Linked DNA regions of Homo sapiens: all the other regions are linked to region 1. Evidence: promoter capture Hi-C in 16 types of primary human blood cells and fetal thymus (Javierre and others, 2016). All regions are on one chromosome and are shown on one strand. The core of a region is centred on a gene start or on the middle of the fragment in contact, and the rest is flanking DNA. Distances in the headings are between cores, read along the strand shown.

Region 1 (2,788 bases), core at 84-2,583:
AGCAGGTGTCTCCTGGGATTGTCCCAGGCAAACCAGGACATAAAGTCACCTTACCTAGGTGGGTAATAGCCACCTAACTGACTTGTAAGAGTGAAATGAATATACCCCCAAGTACAGTGAGTGGTCTAATCAGGGGTTTGATTTAGTGAATTGCCGCTAATGACACTGGTCCTTTGGTGTTTCAAGCCTCTGCACCCTATTTGGGCCTCCCTTCTACTTATGCCTTTCTTCTTTTCTCTATTCCTTTACCTTTTGTCGTTGGCGTGTTACCGTCTTCATTTCTGCCACTAGACCTATGCCCCCTGACTGCCTGGGATTAACAGAGGCTTTTACAACTCTGCTTACCCTCTTTTTCTTGATTCTAGGGCTGGTACGAGCCAAGCCCATTATTCTAGGTCCTAATCTGTTTGGTGGAGTTGTTACTCCACTTCTCTGACCTTGCGCGTAGGGCCTGGGCACTCCTAGGAATTAGGGGCAGGGTGGGGTTAGGGCTGAAACCCATTTGCTCCGACACTCCTGTTTTATGTTCTATTAACTTTATTCCTCAGGGGAATACTTCCCTTTGCAGCCTTCTGTATTTCACCCTTGGGTTCATGTACAAGGATCTCACAATTATCAGTGGAAACATACCCTGAAATCTTCAGGCTAGAGGCAGTCACTTTCAGGACCACAGAAGTCCCTGCCTGGTGGCTGCTTGCCTCCAGAAAGGAGAGCAGGAGTGACTGCCACATTGTCATGGCGGGAGCGCGTGGGGGCCGGTGTCTGTGAAGCCGGGGAAGAGTGGGGTCCTGTGGAATATGAGCAGGGCAGGAAGCCCCAGCCTGAGCCTGTGGTGTGTTTGGGGCCGAATATTGTCCCCCCCCCGCCCCCGCCCACGAAAAAAACTCCTGCGCTCCCAGAAGGTGAGAGTACCGAGATTAGTCATGCAGGGCCGCTGAGTGTGACTTCCAGCCCTCCAGCGTCTCGTGTCCCGCCCGTGTCGGAGCCCATGGCTTTTTAGGACAGGAAGCGCTGCGGGGTAGTGCGGGCAGGCAGGCACGTCACACCGGACAGCGTCGAGATTGCTGCTTTCGGTTCCCCAGCGGGTGGTGAGGCAGAAAGTGCAGGGCGGAATGAGGAGCCCCAGCACCTCAGAGCTGTCGGGCAGTGGCGGGGAAGCAAAGCACAGGAGCGCTGTGGTGCCAGCGGCCGGGCTAGGGACGACTGGCGGGTTTGCGCTGGACCCGACCCCGAGGGCGGGCGCAAGGGGGCGGGCGCTGCCGTACTCAGGCCGCGGGGCCAGGGCGGGCCGGCCGGCGGGGCATTTAAACCCCGCTGACAGCCAGTCCAGCCCGGGACACGCGCCCAGCTCTGTAGCCTCCTCCGTCGACTCAGCCTTAGGTACCGGTCAGGCAAAATGCGGTCCTCCCTGGCTCCGGGAGTCTGGTTCTTCCGGGCCTTCTCCAGGGACAGCTGGTGAGCGGGGCAGGGGAGGGAGGCGTGCCGGGACCTCCTGGGCTCGGGGCTTGCAGGGGCCGCGGGGGGCCTCGGAGATCACCCCAGATCGGCCCCGGCGTCGCCGCGTGGCCAGGGGTGCTGGGGGGACTTGGTCCCGAGCTCCTCCAGCGGCGCCCGCCTCGGAGGTTGATAACCCTCCCTGCCCAACTCCGCCCGCGCTCCCCCAGACCCCGCGACGCTGGCTCGGTGACACTGGGGAAGAACAGGCTGCCAGGGAGGGTCTCCATCGTTTCCCGTTTCCATCCTCCCCTCCTAACACACATCCGGGGCGCCTTCAGAGCGCCTTTCTGTCGTTGGGCAGCTGGGGAACCTGGGCTCGAAGGCTGGGGAACCGAGGCCAGGGGATGGTAGAGGAAAGGGGTTGCCACTGGGGTTTGTGAGTGTCCCTCTTGGTCTCCTTTAGCCCTCGAACACCAAGGCCAGAACTCAGTGGTCCTGGGAGCTCGTCTCGAGGCCTTTCAGCACCTGGAAAGGGCACAGCTCTCAGAGCAGAGCAGGGCAGCCCCTCGGCAGTGGGAGAAGGGCTTCACAGAGGTTCTCTTCCTGACCGCAGGGACCACATGTTGGGCTGCAAGGTGGGGTGGAGGGGTTTCAGCCACTCTTCCTTAGAGGCGGTCAACCATTGGAGCAGTCCGTTTGGTCTGCACAGTTTTTAAAATATTGTGTTAGTTGCCATTATTTACAAATCATAAAATTTAACAAAAATAGCTAGATTCCAGACTTCTCTTGAACAATAGACGACGTGGACCGGGCATGGTGGTTCATGCTTGTAATCCCACCACTTTGGGAGGCCAAGATGGGAGAATTACATGAGGCCAGGAGTTCGAGACCAGCCTGGCCAACATCGTGAGACCACCCCTCCATTCCCCCCTCACACCCCTCCCTGTCTCTAGAAGTAAAAAAAGGAAAGAAAAGAAAAATGGATGATGTAGCAATACTGGGCCTAAATTTCCAAATTAAATGAATAGGATTGAGGAGTCCCCTTTAGATAGGGCAGGTGCTATTAAAGTGGCCAATTTGTCCTGGTTTTGAAACAGTCTTTTGTCGGCAACCCTCTCAATCCTGGGCAAAATGAGACAATTGGCTACCCTACACACTTTTTAATTGTTGAGAGCTCTCATCAATTCTAACCTTCTTCACTCGTTTAGATTATTTACCTAGTCTTTTTTGAGTTGGAGACTGTTAAAAGATATTTTTCAGAAAAAGATTAAAATCCTGACTCTCACAAAGACATAAGAATGAACCCATGTTAAAGATTTTCTTTTACTCATAATAAAGGAGGCAGAAGATG
Region 2 (2,788 bases), core at 193-2,692, 71 kb before region 1:
CACCAGTGTATTGGCTTGACGTATGATTGCCACAAACCTTCAGTTTGTAAAAAACACAACATCTGCAAAGCATAATAAAAATAGGTATGCTGTATATTGTACCTGATTTGGAGATCCATACTTGGAAAAAATAGTTTCTTGATTGATTTCTCAAAACTCCAGTGCTCTTACTAAATGTTAAAGTATTACCAGCAGCATATTACTCCAAATAAACAATTTGCTGTTTCTTTTCTTTTTATTCAATTTTTTAAATCAACACTCTACCCAGATTTTGTGAACAATTTAATTTTTTATTTTTAATCTTCTTCATTGGGAGAAATATTTCTGGCAGCCATTATCTGCTTAGACAGCTGAAAGATGGAAAAAGGAGTGGTCCATAAGTACTCAGCAGTATCTTTCACACAGGTTCCAAGGCCATCCCTCCACCAGAGATGAGTTAGACTAAAAGGAAGAAGAAAGACCAACAGGAATTAGATTACTTAGGGTTGTGGTTGGACTTTTGTGGAATGGAGTGTAGTTTTTGGTTTTTCCATAAGGTGCTCAATTATATTCTGATCTTGGTTAACTCCAGAATTCTCACTAAAACCTAAAGTCTTAACCTGTCATTCTTAACGGAGCAATTGATATGTTGTGTTTGTTCTTTCATAGAAAGCAAGTCTGAAGCAGCCAACATCCATTTTGATAGGTAGGAGAGGGAGAGAGGCACTTCCTCTGGATGTCCATCAGGATCTTCTATGCAGGCATCATCAGGCCTCCATCAGAGGCAAGGTAGAAAAGAAAAATGACAGAGACCAACAGGAACTGAATTGTTTAGAGTGTAGTTTGAAGCTTTCAAAGGTTGTTCTCAGCTAAACTTCAGAACTGACAAAAAGTATGAGTGTCTCTTTTATTCCATAATGTTTTATATTATCCTGAAAAAAACTACCCTTTGGCCTTCAATGAAGCCTAGAATATTATTGCCATCATATTAGTCTTGCTAGACAATTTATAGTTTTTTATTATTTTATCTTTTAGAAAGTACACTTTAAGGAGCCATACTCTGATATGACAGATGAGAAAGGGAGAGAAGACTTTTCTCTGGCAGACTATCAGTGTTTGCCTCCCAAATCCCAGGACCAGGATGACATCAAAAATCAGGTAGAGTAGAAGAAAAAGATATAAACAGGAAGGAAGTACCCAGGTTTTATAAATCCCAACAACTGGTAATTTAGAATGAGGGATTTTGGAGCTAACCTAAGAATATAGTGGCTTTTTTCTGATGGAGTCTTTCTCTGTCGCCCAGGCTGGAGTGCAGTGGCACAATCTCGACTCATTGCAACCTCTGCCTCCTGGGTTCAAACGATTCTCCTGCCTCAGCCTCCCGAGTAGCTGGGATTACAGGCGCATGCCAGCACGCCTGGCTAATTTTTGTTTTTTTAGTAGAGATGGGGTTTCAACATGTTGGCCAGGCGGGTCTCGAACTCCTGACCTCAGGTGATCTGCCCGCCTCTTCCTCCCAAAGTGCTGGGTTTACAGGCGTAAGCCACTGTCCCCGGCCAGAATACAGTATTTTTTATTCCTTCCCACATTAGTGGGAAGATGATCCTAAGTCCTATTAGAACAGAGGAACTGCTTCAGGAGCATAGAGTGTTAAACACTAAACAATTCAGTTCCTCCTGGTCTCTCTCCTTTTTGTTTTTTTCTCTTCTACTTTGTACTTCAGTGGTACAAAAGACCCTGGTCTAGGGAACTATATGAGTCAAAATCAGTTCAGTGATTTCTGAGGCTGATGTATCACGTTCATATCTTATTCCAGAATCAGTTGACTATTTTAATTTAACAAGATTATTCTTCAACTCTTACCAAAGCCAACAGTATTGCTGCAAGCATAATGCCCCTACATGTACAATGTAGGAACTAGAAGATACTTAGGATTTGATGAGTTTGTCAGACTATTCTGTCAATGATGGGATTAAGAATTAAGGTCTACATAGTTGAGCTAAAAGTGTAACATCTCCCTCATATCAAAACGTATCAGAATATTTTTACCTGGTTTCATTTCTCTGGAGTTTTCACTGAAGCTTATGATATTATGATTAGCATTACACAATTTTTTTTCTGTTGTTGTTTTTCCTTTAAAATATGTTTCTCAAGCAACCTGCATCTTTTATGAGAGAAGAAAGAGTGAGAGAAGAATTGCCTCTGGACTATCATCAATATGTTGTACCTAAAATCCAGGACCAAGACTCCCCTAGAGAACAGGTAGAACCGAATACAGTAGGAGGACTGTATACCTTCTAAAAGGGGAACAAGCCTAAATCATATTAACATTGAGGCTGAAGCCTGTCAAGCTAGCTTGTTTGTGGAATACATAGAATTAAGGCCTCCAGAATTAAGCTAAGAGTATAATGTTTTTGGTTATTTCAAAATGTGCCAGAATAATCTGGAATTTGCTTTAAAATACTCCAGGAAAAACATTGGAGAAGAGATAGATAATAAAGCAAAATGTTGCTAATTGTTGAATCTGGGTAATTGTTGAATCTTGAGATTCATTATACTTTTTTTTTTTCTACTTTGATGCAAGTTTGGAAATTTTTATGTTGAACACACACACAGCTTTAACTGTGTTCTATTATCCTCACCTAGTGTCATTACTCTGGGATTGTCACTGAAGTCTATAATACTGTCACTAGCCCGTCATTTCTGCTTAGACAATCAGTTTTGTATTTTGTTGTTCCTTTAGAACAAGCATATCAAACTACCCTCATCTTTTGAGAAATGGGAGATTGCAAGAGGAAATACTCCTGGA
Region 3 (2,788 bases), core at 96-2,595, 78 kb after region 1:
CTTTCTACTCTCTACCCCTTTTCTCTGGTGGCTCCCAAATCTTTGCTCTTCTTGGCTCTTCAAACACATTCCTCTTAGTTCCCCCTCAAACTCCCTTTCCTGCTCCAGTCTCTGGCCTAAGAGATGTGAAGATGCAGAGGAGGGAGGCAGGAGGGACGGGCCTCCCACTTCCCTACTTCCTTTCAGCAGACCCCTGAAGAAAAGAGGCGGAAGGAACTAGGAATGGGATGAGTTGGGTTCTTGCCAAGGGGCCCTCCCTCCCCTCCCTCCTCTGTCTCCGAGCTCTGCCTGCACTCGGGTTCACGCGGGAGAAGATGAATCTGCAGCACCAGCCCCTGCCAGTCTCCCACAGCCAGGGTGGCCAAGCCCTCAGGGCTCTGCAGGACAATCCTCGGCGTCTGCTGCTGCTGCTGCTGCTGCTGGAACCTTCTCAGGGTGTCCTCTGCTGGCAGGCAGGCTTCGCACACAGGTGAACAGAACTCACCACCAGTGAGAAAGCTGGCCGTCTCACACCTTGGCTAGTTTGTGAAACCCAACTCATTCCACCAATGTTGCCTCATGGACTGGCTTTGGAAATTCCATTAATAGCTCCTCTCTGGCCTTGAAGCCTTGCTACCCTAATCCATCAATGACCATTTCACAACCGGGGAATGACATCTGTCCATGTACTCACTTTTTATGGTCCGGTCCTTTACAGCCTACACACATTCTTCCTGAAGATCTCTTACTGGGTCCTCATGATAATGAAATTCCAGCTGTGCAGAGGGAAACTGAAGCTTGCAGAAATTAAATATATTCACCAAATATCTGAACAAAGAAGTAATCGGTGGAGCCAGGGCAAGAACCCAACTCATCCCATTCCTAGTTCCTTCTGCCTCCTTTCTTCAGGGATCTGCTGGAAGGAAGTAGGGAAGTGGGAGGCCGCACACTCTGGCACAAGGCAAAGGGGTTAACAGGAGTGTGTTGACTTTTGTCCTTCTGCCAAGTCCCCTCACATCCAATTTACATTGTTATACAATGCTGATCTGTACCATTCTTGTTAATGTTTCTTTATAGATGTTTTAGTTATGTCTGTCCCATATGTGCGTCTGACTTTTTTCGTAGAATCTGAGCTAGCTCCTTGCTGCACTACTACCCCGGGAATCAGAACAGGTTTCCGCATGCAGCTCTTTGGTGAGAGTGACTTAGGGCCCCTCGAGGGACATGAGAAAACGATTTCGATACCGTGAACACTGGGGCAGGTAGAAACCCAACTTATCCCAGCTTTTCCATCTTCCTGCCAGGCCCCGGCCGGGCTTCCCAGCCTCCTCGTTAGCCTCTGTGAAAAATTAAAGCCCCAATAATCAAATCAACCCTTGTAAATGCTCTAAAAGCCGCTCCAGAGCACCAAGGAGCCAGCAAACCCCAGACCCAAATCCATGTCAAATTTCATAGATATAATTTAAGCAGGGATCAAAACCCACACTAACCTAGTAACTAAGGCTGCTCAAAATGCACTTTATAGTCCATCTGCCTCTCTGCTTCAGGGAGTCTGTATTAAATTTATTGCAAAGTAAAACAAATAAACCCAGGCAAAGGCAAGATGGAAATCTGCATACTGTCAGAGAATTAGCAGCCCTCTCGGGTTAGGAAGGCTGCCTCTCAATTTGCATCTCTAAGGAGTTGTGACTGGGCTGGGGGGCTGGGATGGTCGGGGCAGGACGGAGACTCGGAGCAGGCCTGCCCCCTGCTGGCTGACTGTAGAACTACAACCCTCTGGCCGCGGTGGTGGGCTCTGCAGGGCTCGCCCCGCCAGCTTTTGAAAGACAATCTGCAGCTGAAATAAATGTTGAAAAGGTGTGGAATTGGAAGAGCACGTAGTAGAAAGAGGGGAGGGAAGGGCTCTGTGGGGAAGAGATCCTCATTTCTGAACATAAAGCTTGAGGAAGGCGGGAACTTGAAGTGGGTGGATATAGAGTTTCAGAGCTGTCTTTTCTGTTGTAGGAACAGGAGACTGCGGTGCATTTCTTGACTCCTCTTCCCCTTCTTTTCCTTCTCCCTTTCCCTTGCTCTCCATAATCACAAAACGCAGAAGACTGGAGTGCAGGCGGCAGGGGTCCTTGCATGGCACTGTTGGCTTTGCTGTGTGACCCTTGGAGAGAGCTGTGCCTGAGACCAGGGTGAGGCCTTGCTTGCAGGGTGGTGCTGGCGGGTTGGCGCCTGTGTGGCTGGAGACGGGGTGCTTCCTGAAATTCCGCTTCACCCCAGGCCTGGCACTGCTCAGTCGGCTCACCTGTGGATAGAGAGGGCCTCTGAGGCTCCTTTCAGAGTGAATATCTGAATTTGATGACTCTGGTTGAAGAGCTCAGGCATCAGTCACAGACTTTCCAGGGAAGCTCCCAGGATCCCCGATACTCTCCTAGGATATTCCCATCATAACCTTCAGCACTGGCTCCAGTGGTACCCTCTCTAGATTGAGGCTCCCCCTGACTTCTTTAGTCAGAGATGGGCTGTCTTCCTTGTACTCCTTTTATAGGTAGGTAGATGGTAGGTAGATAGGTAGACAGATAGATGTAGATATATTGATATACTTATAATCACGTTGTAATAATTTATTTATCAACCCCATCCCCTAGAATGCAAAGTCCTTGAGCTCCATGGACAAGGGGAAGGAGTAAGGCCTGGTGAGTGTCATGGCCAGTCTCAGTGTCTACCCGCTCCCCAATTCCTGCTTTTCCCAGCCAGCACCTGAAACACAGTATGTGTCAAATGAACGAAAGAATGAATGAATAAAGAATAAAGTGGCAGG

What was found. Contacts are between HindIII fragments. The CHiCAGO score rates a contact against its expected background, and 5 or more counts as called.
Region 2: a fragment that was not itself captured here is called in contact with the fragment with the promoter of SLC37A2 in region 1 in 1 of 17 cell types (M2 macrophages); the score reaches 6.0 in M2 macrophages.
Region 3: a contact is called between a fragment that was not itself captured here and the fragment with the promoter of SLC37A2 in region 1, in 1 of 17 cell types (M2 macrophages). The highest score is 5.4, in M2 macrophages.

Annotation. Positions count from the first base shown.
Region 1 is chr11:125,061,972-125,064,759 of GRCh38, forward strand. It overlaps SLC37A2 (solute carrier family 37 member 2), which reads left to right and starts at 1,334. Exons shown (of 18, transcript NM_001145290.2): 1 at 1,334-1,455. The coding sequence starts at 1,397. RefSeq lists silencers at 1,143-1,332, 1,543-1,622. The HindIII fragment of the contact is 6,676 bases long and covers 1-2,788 here.
Region 2 is chr11:124,990,447-124,993,234 of GRCh38, forward strand. It overlaps CCDC15 (coiled-coil domain containing 15), which reads left to right. Exons shown (of 16, transcript NM_025004.3): 9 at 1,015-1,137; 10 at 2,134-2,241; 11 at 2,723-2,788. Among named protein-coding and RNA genes, the nearest start is that of CCDC15, 38 kb to the left of the region's middle. The HindIII fragment of the contact is 1,232 bases long and covers 827-2,058 here.
Region 3 is chr11:125,140,188-125,142,975 of GRCh38, forward strand. No RefSeq gene overlaps it. Among named protein-coding and RNA genes, the nearest start is that of PKNOX2-DT, 23 kb to the right of the region's middle. RefSeq lists an enhancer at 1,604-2,160. The HindIII fragment of the contact is 1,142 bases long and covers 775-1,916 here.